Regions from separate parts of the Homo sapiens genome. Here region 2 is linked to region 1. The links are contacts of gene promoters, found by promoter capture Hi-C in blood cells and fetal thymus (Javierre and others, 2016). All regions are on one chromosome and are shown on one strand. Each heading gives the region's core, a stretch centred on a gene start or on the middle of the fragment in contact. The rest is flanking DNA. Distances are from core to core; before and after follow the strand shown. Region 1 holds the start of AR (androgen receptor). Region 2 overlaps NXTAR (negative expression of androgen receptor regulating lncRNA).

The links. Contacts are between HindIII fragments. The CHiCAGO score rates a contact against its expected background, and 5 or more counts as called.
Region 2: a contact is called between a fragment that was not itself captured here and the fragment with the promoter of AR in region 1, in 1 of 17 cell types (megakaryocytes). The highest score is 5.4, in megakaryocytes.

What each region holds. Positions count from the first base shown.
Region 1 is chrX:67,540,768-67,545,270 of GRCh38, reverse strand. AR (androgen receptor) reads right to left here and starts at 1,250. Exons shown (of 8, transcript NM_000044.6): 1 at 1-1,250. The coding sequence starts at 124. The HindIII fragment of the contact is 7,103 bases long and covers 1-3,598 here.
Region 2 is chrX:67,774,426-67,778,928 of GRCh38, reverse strand. The region is part of intron 1 of NXTAR (negative expression of androgen receptor regulating lncRNA); the gene reads left to right. Among named protein-coding and RNA genes, the nearest start is that of NXTAR, 8.2 kb to the left of the region's middle. The HindIII fragment of the contact is 9,737 bases long and covers 1-4,503 here.

The DNA of each region.
Region 1 (4,503 bases), core at 1-2,500:
GGTGCCTGGGGCCCGGGTTCTGGATCACTTCGCGCACGCTCTGGAACAGATTCTGGAAAGCTCCTCGGTAGGTCTTGGACGGCGGCCGAGGGTAGACCCTTCCCAGCCCTAACTGCACTTCCATCCTTGAGCTTGGCTGAATCTTCCACCTACTTCCCTTACCCCGCCTCCCCTTCTCTTGCTCAGAAGAGTTCAACAGGCTGTGATGATGCGGTAGTCGCTGCAGCTAGCTGCCCACCTGCGGGAAGCTCCAGAGAAGGAAACTTGCGGGAGCAACCACGCAAAAAGCGCTCTGACAGCCTCAAAGTCTCGTGCAGAAGAAGACACACGGTGGACAAGATCTGCCCTGCTAGGCTCACAGTCTGTCTCTTAATACTTGAAGGGTAGATTCAAAAGATGCCCAGATCTTAAAAGAAAAAAACAAAATCCTCCACCTTCCAAATTCAGTGTCCACTGAAGTAGGTGCAAATAAGAACTGAGTTATTATCTTTTTCTTTTATTTCGGCTTTTTTGTTTTTGTTTGTTTTGTTTTTTGGCTACTGAAGACCTGACTGCCTTTTCATCTTTTGATCTCTGGCTCCGCACTCGGGGTGGGGAAGGCAGGAGGAGGTGGAGAGAGAGTGGGGGAAAACAGAGGGTTCTCTCCGCGTGCAGCCTAACCAGGCGGGTCGTGGCTGCAGTGCTGAAGCCGCTCCCCAGTCGCCTGGCTCCTAAGAGCCTTCTTTGCAATGTGCAGCTAGCTCGCCCGCTCGCAGCCAAAGGGAGTTACCTCTCTGCAAACTCGGGCTGGCAGCGCTGGGCCGACGGGGGCGGGGGGGCGGGTGGGGAGAAGGGTGGTGAGGGGGGTTGGCTGAGAGTAGCCGACTGAGGCAGCTGCGGGAGAGAAGACGGGGGAGGGGGGGAAGGCAGGGTGGGGGGAGGCGGGGTGGAGAGGAGGAGGACAAAGGCAGCCGTCAGTCCTACCAGGCACTTTCCTTGCTTCCTCCGAGTCTTTAGCAGCTTTTAAAAACTTCACCGAAGAGGAAAGGGCAGCTCCGGGCGGCGGCTTCGAAGCCGCCGCGCTGCAAGAGGCGTTGGCTGTCGCTGGAGCCGGGCTGGGGCTGGCGTGGTGCGTCCCTTCGGCTCCTGTACAGCACTGGAGCGGCTAGCTCGGCCCTTTTTCCCTCTGTCGCCTCCTCTGCCTCTGGGCTTGCTCCGGACCGTCCCGCTCTCCCAGCAAGCTGGCTCCCCGGGATCTCGGAGGGGGCGCTGGGAGGTGGAGAGCAAATGCAACAGTTTGCGAGTCGGGTCCCGCCCCCACCGGGCCGGCCTCCTTGCCTTCCCACCTCCTTTTCCCTCCCCTCCCCTTTCCTTTTCTCCCCTCCCCTCACCGCGCGCTAACGCCTGCCTAGTGGCTTTGGAGAAACAAGTGCTGGCGCAGCGTGGGCGAGGGCAGGAGAGGCTAGCTCTAGCCCTGGAGGACCCCTGCTTCCTGAATAGCTCCTGCTTTCCTAAACCAAGGTTTAGGCGCCAGGGCTCCAGATTTCCTGGAGGCCAGCACTCACCAAATTTGGTTCCAAAGCCCAATCTAAAAAACCAACAGGGTGGAGGCGAGGGAGGGAGGAAAAGGACGATAGGAATACCTGCTCCTGGCTGCCAGGGGTTCTTTTCAGGACTGATAAGAGCGCGCAGATGGGAGAGTGGGAGAGTCTCCTACAAACTGAGGAGCAAGCCATGACCAAGCCAGCAGATACTTGCTGAAACCTTAGATTCCGTCATAGGGATAGATCGGGCCTCGTGGCATTGTGCCATTTGCTCTAGGAACCCTCAGCCCCAAGAATCAGAGGTCATTTCTACCCTCTTCTCTGCCTTTCTTCCTGTCTGGAATTGCCTTTAACCATGCATTTCTCATCCAGACTCTCAAAGGCAAAATCACCCAGACAAGCAGGTAAACACACAAACACTAAAAACACTTGCCATGTACACATAGGCGCTCAATTTTGTCCAGAGCTCTGTAAACGTTTGCTTTGTATGCAGCCGCTTGCTTTTCCAAGTTGCCTTCGCATATTTTAAACTTTACAACTGGAACTATCCAAGGATAGAACCTATATAGGGCTGCTTTTCGCCTCTTGATGGACAGCCAGGCGTAGAGGATGATGTGGGTTACTGCAACTGCTCTTTTGTGGAGGAGGTCCCATAAGCCCTGTGTAAAGGTGGAGATGCAAGTGGGAATGGAAAGAGAGAGAAAATGTAAACGTAAACCTATAAGGAAAACATCTTTCCTTTATGTCAGTAGAGACCCTGGGCCTCCCTATGTTTTAAATTCCTTTGACTTCTGATTCTGGGGAGGCTCTCTGTTCCAAAAGTCATTCCGAGATTTTTGCCTGGGTCTCTTTTGCTTTTTGCAGTCTTCTACAGAGAAAAGATGGGTTGTAGCTTTGTTGTAGCTTTATCTTGTGCACAGCCAAACATCATAGGCATTTACTTACCTTGACCAAAGAAGGTAACTCAAACCTAAAGGCAAGGAAGACTGGATATGATAGGCTCTATTTCACAGATGAACAGGCTGAAACAAGGACATAATTTGTTCTATGTTCCACATTAGTAAAACCTAAACTAGTCTTCCAGTCCATTGCTATTTGAGCTAGACTCTAGACTCATCAATCGCATTGTCATTTGGGAAATGGCTATAAATGAACCTTCCAGAACACAAAGGCCTGAAGACCCTTTCACCTGAGGAGGTGAAAAATTATTTCCTGAGATTTTAATGGCTACAGCCTTCCTTGAATATACCTCACCATATGTAAGTAGAATGCGTAGATACTTCAACCTCATTTGAATACTCATTGCAACATTTAATCCCACCACAACTTTCAACTAGCATTGCTCAATAGGAATTGAGTGGGCTGGCAGGATGGTAGAATGGAATTAACATAGGTCTCAGAGCCAGGAGAACTATGTGTCTACACACTAACAGTGAAGGAAGGTGCAAAAATCACTGAATGAACAATGGACAGGAGTGAAGAGGACACATAGACACAAAGAGGCCTGAAAAAAAATTAAGGTGAGAAATAATGCTCTGAAGTTACTCTGAATAAAAAGCAGTCTGACATTCAAACCTGGGTCTGAAAGACTCCAAAGTTTATGTTGCTTCCACATCACCAACATTGTCTTCACAGTTTCCACATCTGAAAACTGTTGCCAATATAAGTTACCCTCAGAAGGCTAGTGTGTCATTTAAAAGACATAATGTGTATAGAACAAACTTGTAAACAGGAAAGCATTCTACAAATCTGAAGGATTACTATGTTATTTTTATTTTTAAAGATGGTGCTGTCAACAATTATATCATTATCAGGAAAGGTTAACTACTATAAGCATATTAGGGCCATATACTTTATTTGGATTTTGAACTCTGATCTTCCAGCTCAAATCTCATTTTCTTCCCATTGCTTTTAAGAACAAGAGACAATTATTGATTAATATTATATAAGTTCACTGTTTGTACCAGCTTTCTTCTTCTTTCTCCTCCTGTTCTTTGCAGTTTTTTAGTAATCAAATGGAACCAGAGGTGTTCTCTCAGATTAGTCAGGTTGAGAGTAAGTTTCTGCTATAAGCTTCCTCTGCAACTTCAAGAGGGATTTATTAATAAAGTCTTCCCTAGCTCTTTGCTCTGGAAAGCCAGGATGAGCTGACCTTTGGAAAATGGTGACCATCGGGTTTTATTTCCTAAGTATCTCACACATCTGCCCATTTATTTCATCTCTGTTGTTGCCAACCTAGTTCACTTCCAGAAGGCACCGTTCTCTTCCACCTGGAGCACTGTAAATGGTCATCCTCCCTCCACTCTTTCCTAGAATCAGTTCTGCATTGTGCAGCCAGAGGGTTTCTTTTTAATAGCCGTACTGAGGTATAATTGATATATACAATAAACTGCACATATTTAAAGTTGCATAAATTGATCATTTTTGACACACGCGTGCACTCATGAAATCATCACTCAATCAAGATAGTGAATATATCTATGATTCCAAAAGTTTTTATTGTGCCACTTTGTACATTTTCCCTCCACCTCTCCTATACTCCTCCTCCTCAGGCAACCAATGATCTGCTTTCTGTCAGTATAGACTGTTTTTCACTTTCCAGAGTTTTATGTCAATGGAACTATACAGCATGTACTCTTTTTTTTTTTTACTTGCATCTTTCACTGAGCACAATGCCTTTGATGTACATTTAAGCTGTTATGTATATCACTAGCTCATTCTTCTTTATTGCTAAGTAGTATTCTATTGCATTGCTGTACCACGCTTTGTTTATCCATTCACTTTTGATGGACATTTGGGTTCTTTTCAGTTTGGGGCTACTACAAATAAAACTGCTATAAATATTTGTATAAACATCTTTGTATGGATGTATTCTTTCATTTCTCTCAGGTAAATACTTAGCCATGGAATGGGTGAGTCACAGGGTAGGTATACACCTACTTTTGTAAGAAACTTCCAAATCATCTTCCTAAGTGATTGT
Region 2 (4,503 bases), core at 1,137-3,636, 230 kb before region 1:
GCCCACTCCCCACTTCTTCCCTCATCTGCCCTCACCTTCCTGAAAGTTGTGTCTTGTCTGTCTGTCTGCCTGTCTCTCAGACCACTCCTTGTGTCTCCTCTAAGCGTGCTCTTTCTGGGTTATCGAATTATGACATCTGCCTATCTTTTTCCCCTGTCTTTGTCTGGTTCTCAACCCTCATCTTGAGAAGTAAGCTGTAAAATATTCTCTTGGTAATTAGAAGTGGTAAAGCAGTTCTGCTGGCAGATAAGTCAGAAAATAAGTTTCTGAATTTCCAGAGGAAAGGCCATGGATCCCCTAACAGAATCTTTTGAGGCAGGAATTGTTATCTAAGTCTCTGTGAGCTGTGAGACACTACCAAACAGATTATGCTTGGGCCTGTACTGGGGGAATTCTCAGTTGCACAGAACCTAGAATACTACGCACGTATAAAACTAAGAGATTACCTAGACTACCTCTGCTCCCTTTAAAAGATCTATCTATCTATCTATCTATCTATCTATCTATCTATCTATCTATCTATCATCTATCTATCTATCTATCTAGATATGATTCTTCTCTGCAATAACTTGGAAAAACACTTGTCTAGGCCCCTCCTGCATATCTCCTATGATAAGGAGTTCACTCCATCTAATGACAACCTGTTTCATTTATAGGCTGCTCAGTTAAAAAGTCCTTCCTTGTGTTGAGCTGAAATTTGTTTCCTGCTGGTTCCCACCCAAGGGTCTCATTTCTGCCTTCTGAAGCCTCTCAGACTCCATCTGCTCTCTCTGTTCCTGACAATATCTTAGAGGTCTACAAAAAGAGCACTTCTCTTAAGTCTTCTCTTCTCCAGCTGATAGGATTTGGATGTTTGTCTCCTCCAAATCTCATATTGAAATGTGGCCTCCAATGTTGGAAGTGGAGCCTAGTGGGAAGTATTGGATCCTGGGGTCAAATCCCTCACGAATGGCTTAGCACTAGTTCCTTGGTGATGAGTGAGTTCTCGCTCAGTTAGTTCATGAAAGATCTGGTTGTTTAAAAAGGTCCAGGACCCCTCTTCACTCTCTTGCTCCCTCTTCTTCCTCCGCCATGATCGTAAACTTCCTGTGGCCTCACCAGGATTCAAGCAGACAGCAGCACTATGCTTATGCAGCCTGCAGAACCATGAGCCAATTAACCTATTTTCTACATAAATTACCTAGTCTCAGGTATTCCTTTATAGCAACACAAAATGGACTAAAACACTAGCATAAATGGCCACAGCTCCAAATTCTTTCAGCCGCACCCTTGTCTGTTCACTCCCTTCTGTACACATCCTACATATGACCCACTTAATGTATGGTAGTCCGAGCCAAAAGGAAGTCCCTCAGTAAGGGTCTAACCACTACAGAGTGGAAAGGGACTGTTGCTTCCCTTGATCTAAACACTATACATATGTTGTTGCAGCCTAAGTTCCCATTAGATTTTTTGGGCTTTATCATCTCAGTGATGATGCCTATAAGGGAAAGTCTCAAGTTCCTTTTCTGCAAACTGTGTATAGGACAGTCTATTCCACCCTGTGAATAGTCAGTTGGTTTTCTGCACTCAATTGCAGGCCTCTCCATTTGTAACTGTCAATCATCTGGTCAGGTTCAACCACTTACTTCAGCCTGTTGACATCTTTTTGGAGCCTAACTCCATGGCCTGAAATATTCCTCCCTCCTTTTCAGCTTTCAAACTTTAGTAATAATTTCCTCTCTTCTCTCTACATGAGCCTGTTTTGCTATTTTGTTGAGACATCAAGTCCCTCATTCATTCCTTCAGGAGGGTAGGGGCCACCTTCTCTGGGTGCTCCTGGGGGCAGTTCTCAAGGCCTGTGGCATGAAAACGACTTTGATCAGTGAGAACCAGCAGCTCACTGCTGCTCGGTGGAGAAGGCAGCTCCAATAGCAACATCTCCCTCAGCCTACCTGGGCCTCTGCCAGGGAGAACCCCACATACTGGCTGGCTCATTCAGATGTGGATAAAGTAAGATTTCCAGTTGGCTGCCAGAGATGAAGCCCTGGGATATCAGGCCAAGCAAGGGCACATCAGCACATCAACCTGATTCCTCTGATGGCTCAGAAGTTTTCAGGATCAATGGGCCTCTAGTCATTTATGTCACAACCCCTTCTTCATCCTTGGAGGGCTGGCCTGATTCCAATATTGACTGTCAGCACTCAGCTTTTTAAAACCGGCCGTATTTCTGACAGTCTTGGAGAAAAGACTGATGGCAAAAAGGGCTGTAATATTCCAAGAGCCTCCTTCTTACCAGTCCCCTTAACAGCTTATATCTTTTTATGTTAACACTTTATTTTAGAAGAATACATACACATGGTCAAATATTTTAAAAAAAGGAAGGAAAGTTCAAGATTCTTACAATCCCACCATTCAGGCATAAACCATTATTTGACGTTTTGTTGAAAATCTTATATTGGCAAACACACACACGCTCGTGTGTGTGTGTGTGTGTGTAATGCAACGTTATATTATTGAAAATATGCATTGGCAAAACATTCTGATCTAAAGTATCATTCCTAATGACATAATATCCCATAGGTACTTCTCTTGGGAGATATTTAGGTTGCTTCTAATTTTTCTTTCTTTTTAGCTTTTATTTCAGGTTCAGGGGTACATGTGCACATTTGTCATATAGGTAAATTTGTGTCATGGGTTTGTTGTACAGATTATTTTACACCCACGTGCTAAGCCTAGCAACAATAGTTATTTTTTCTGGTGCTCTCTCTTCTCCCACTCTCCACCCTCAAGTAGGCCCCAGTGTCTATTGATTCTTTGTGTCCATGAGTTTTCACCATTTATCTCCTACTTATCAGAAGAACATGCAGTACTCGATTTTCTGTTCCTGCATTAGTTTGCTAAGGGTAATTGCCTACATTTCCACTGATATTCCTGTGAAAGACACAATCTTGTTCTTTTTTTATGGCTGGATAGTATTCCATGCCATATATGTGCCACATTTTCTTTATCCAGACTATCATTGATGGGCATTTAGGTTGATTTCATGTCTTTGCCATTGTGAATAGTGCTGCGATGAACATTCATGTGCATGTATCTTTATAAAAGAACCATTTATATTTCTCTGGGTATGTACCCAGTCATAGGATTGCTAGGTCAAATGATACTTCTGTTTTTAGCTCTTTGAGGAATTGCCACACTGCTTTGACAATGATTGACCTAATTTACACTTCCATCAATGATGTATAAGCATTCCCTTTTCTCTGGAACCTCATCCCCATCAGTTATTTTTTGACTTTAATAATAACCATTCTGATATGTGAGATGGTATCTCATTGTTGTTTTGATTTGAATTTCTCTAGTTTTCAGTGACATTGAGCTTTTTTTATATGCTTGTTGGTCACATGTGGGTTTCCTCCTCCTCCTCCTCCTCCTCCTCCTCCTCCTCCTTCTTCTTCTTCTTCTTCTTCAGACAGAGCCTTACTCTATTGTACAGGCTGGAGTGCAGTGGCACAATCTCGGCTCACTGCAACCTCCGCCTCCTGGGTTCAAGTGATTCTCCTGTCTCAGCTTCTCGAATAGCTGGGATTACAGTTTGTTTATTTTCTCATAAATTGGCAAGTTCTTTATACATGCTGGATATTAGACCTTTGTCAGATGGATAGTTTGCAAAAATTTTCTCCCTTTCTGTAGGTTTTCTGTTTAATCTGATAGTTGCTTTTGCTGCACAGAAGGTCTTAATTTTACATTCCATTTGTCAAGTTTTGCTTTTGTTGCGATTACTTTGGTGTCTTCATCATGAAATCTTTGCCCGTTCCTTTGTCCTGAATGGTATTGTCTAGGTTGCCTTCCAGGGTTTTTATAGTTTGGGGTTTTACATTTATCTCTTTAACCAATCTTGAATTGATTTTTGTATATGGTGCAGGAAGGGGTTCAGTTTCAATCTTCTGCATATGGCTAGCCAGTTATTCCAGGACCATTTATTGAATAGAGAGTCCTTTACCTATTGCTTGTTATTGTTAATGGTGTAGGTGTGTGGCCTTATTTCTGGGCTCTCTATTCCATTCCCTGGGTCTATGTGTTTGTTTTGTACCAGTACCATGCTGCTTTGGTTACTGTAGCCCTGCAGAAGAGTTTGAAGTCAGGTAACGGGAAACCTCCAGCTTTGTTCTTTTTGCTTAAGATTGTCTTGGCTATTCGGGCTCTTTGTTGGTTCTGTATGAATTTTAAATAGTTTTTCTAGTTCTGTGAAGAATGTCATTGATAGTTTGATAGGAATAGCATTGAATCTATAAAGTGCTTCAGCTAGTATGGCCATTTTAATGATATTGATTCTTCTTATCAATGAGCATGGAATGTTTTTCCATTTTTTGGTTTCATCTCTGATTTCTTTGAGCTTAATTTTCATTATAGAAATCTTTCACCTTCTTGGTTAGGTGTATCCCTATGTATTTTATTCTTTTTGTGGCAATTGTGAATGAGATTTTTGTTCCTGATTTGGCTGTCAGCTTAGGTATTGTTGGTGTA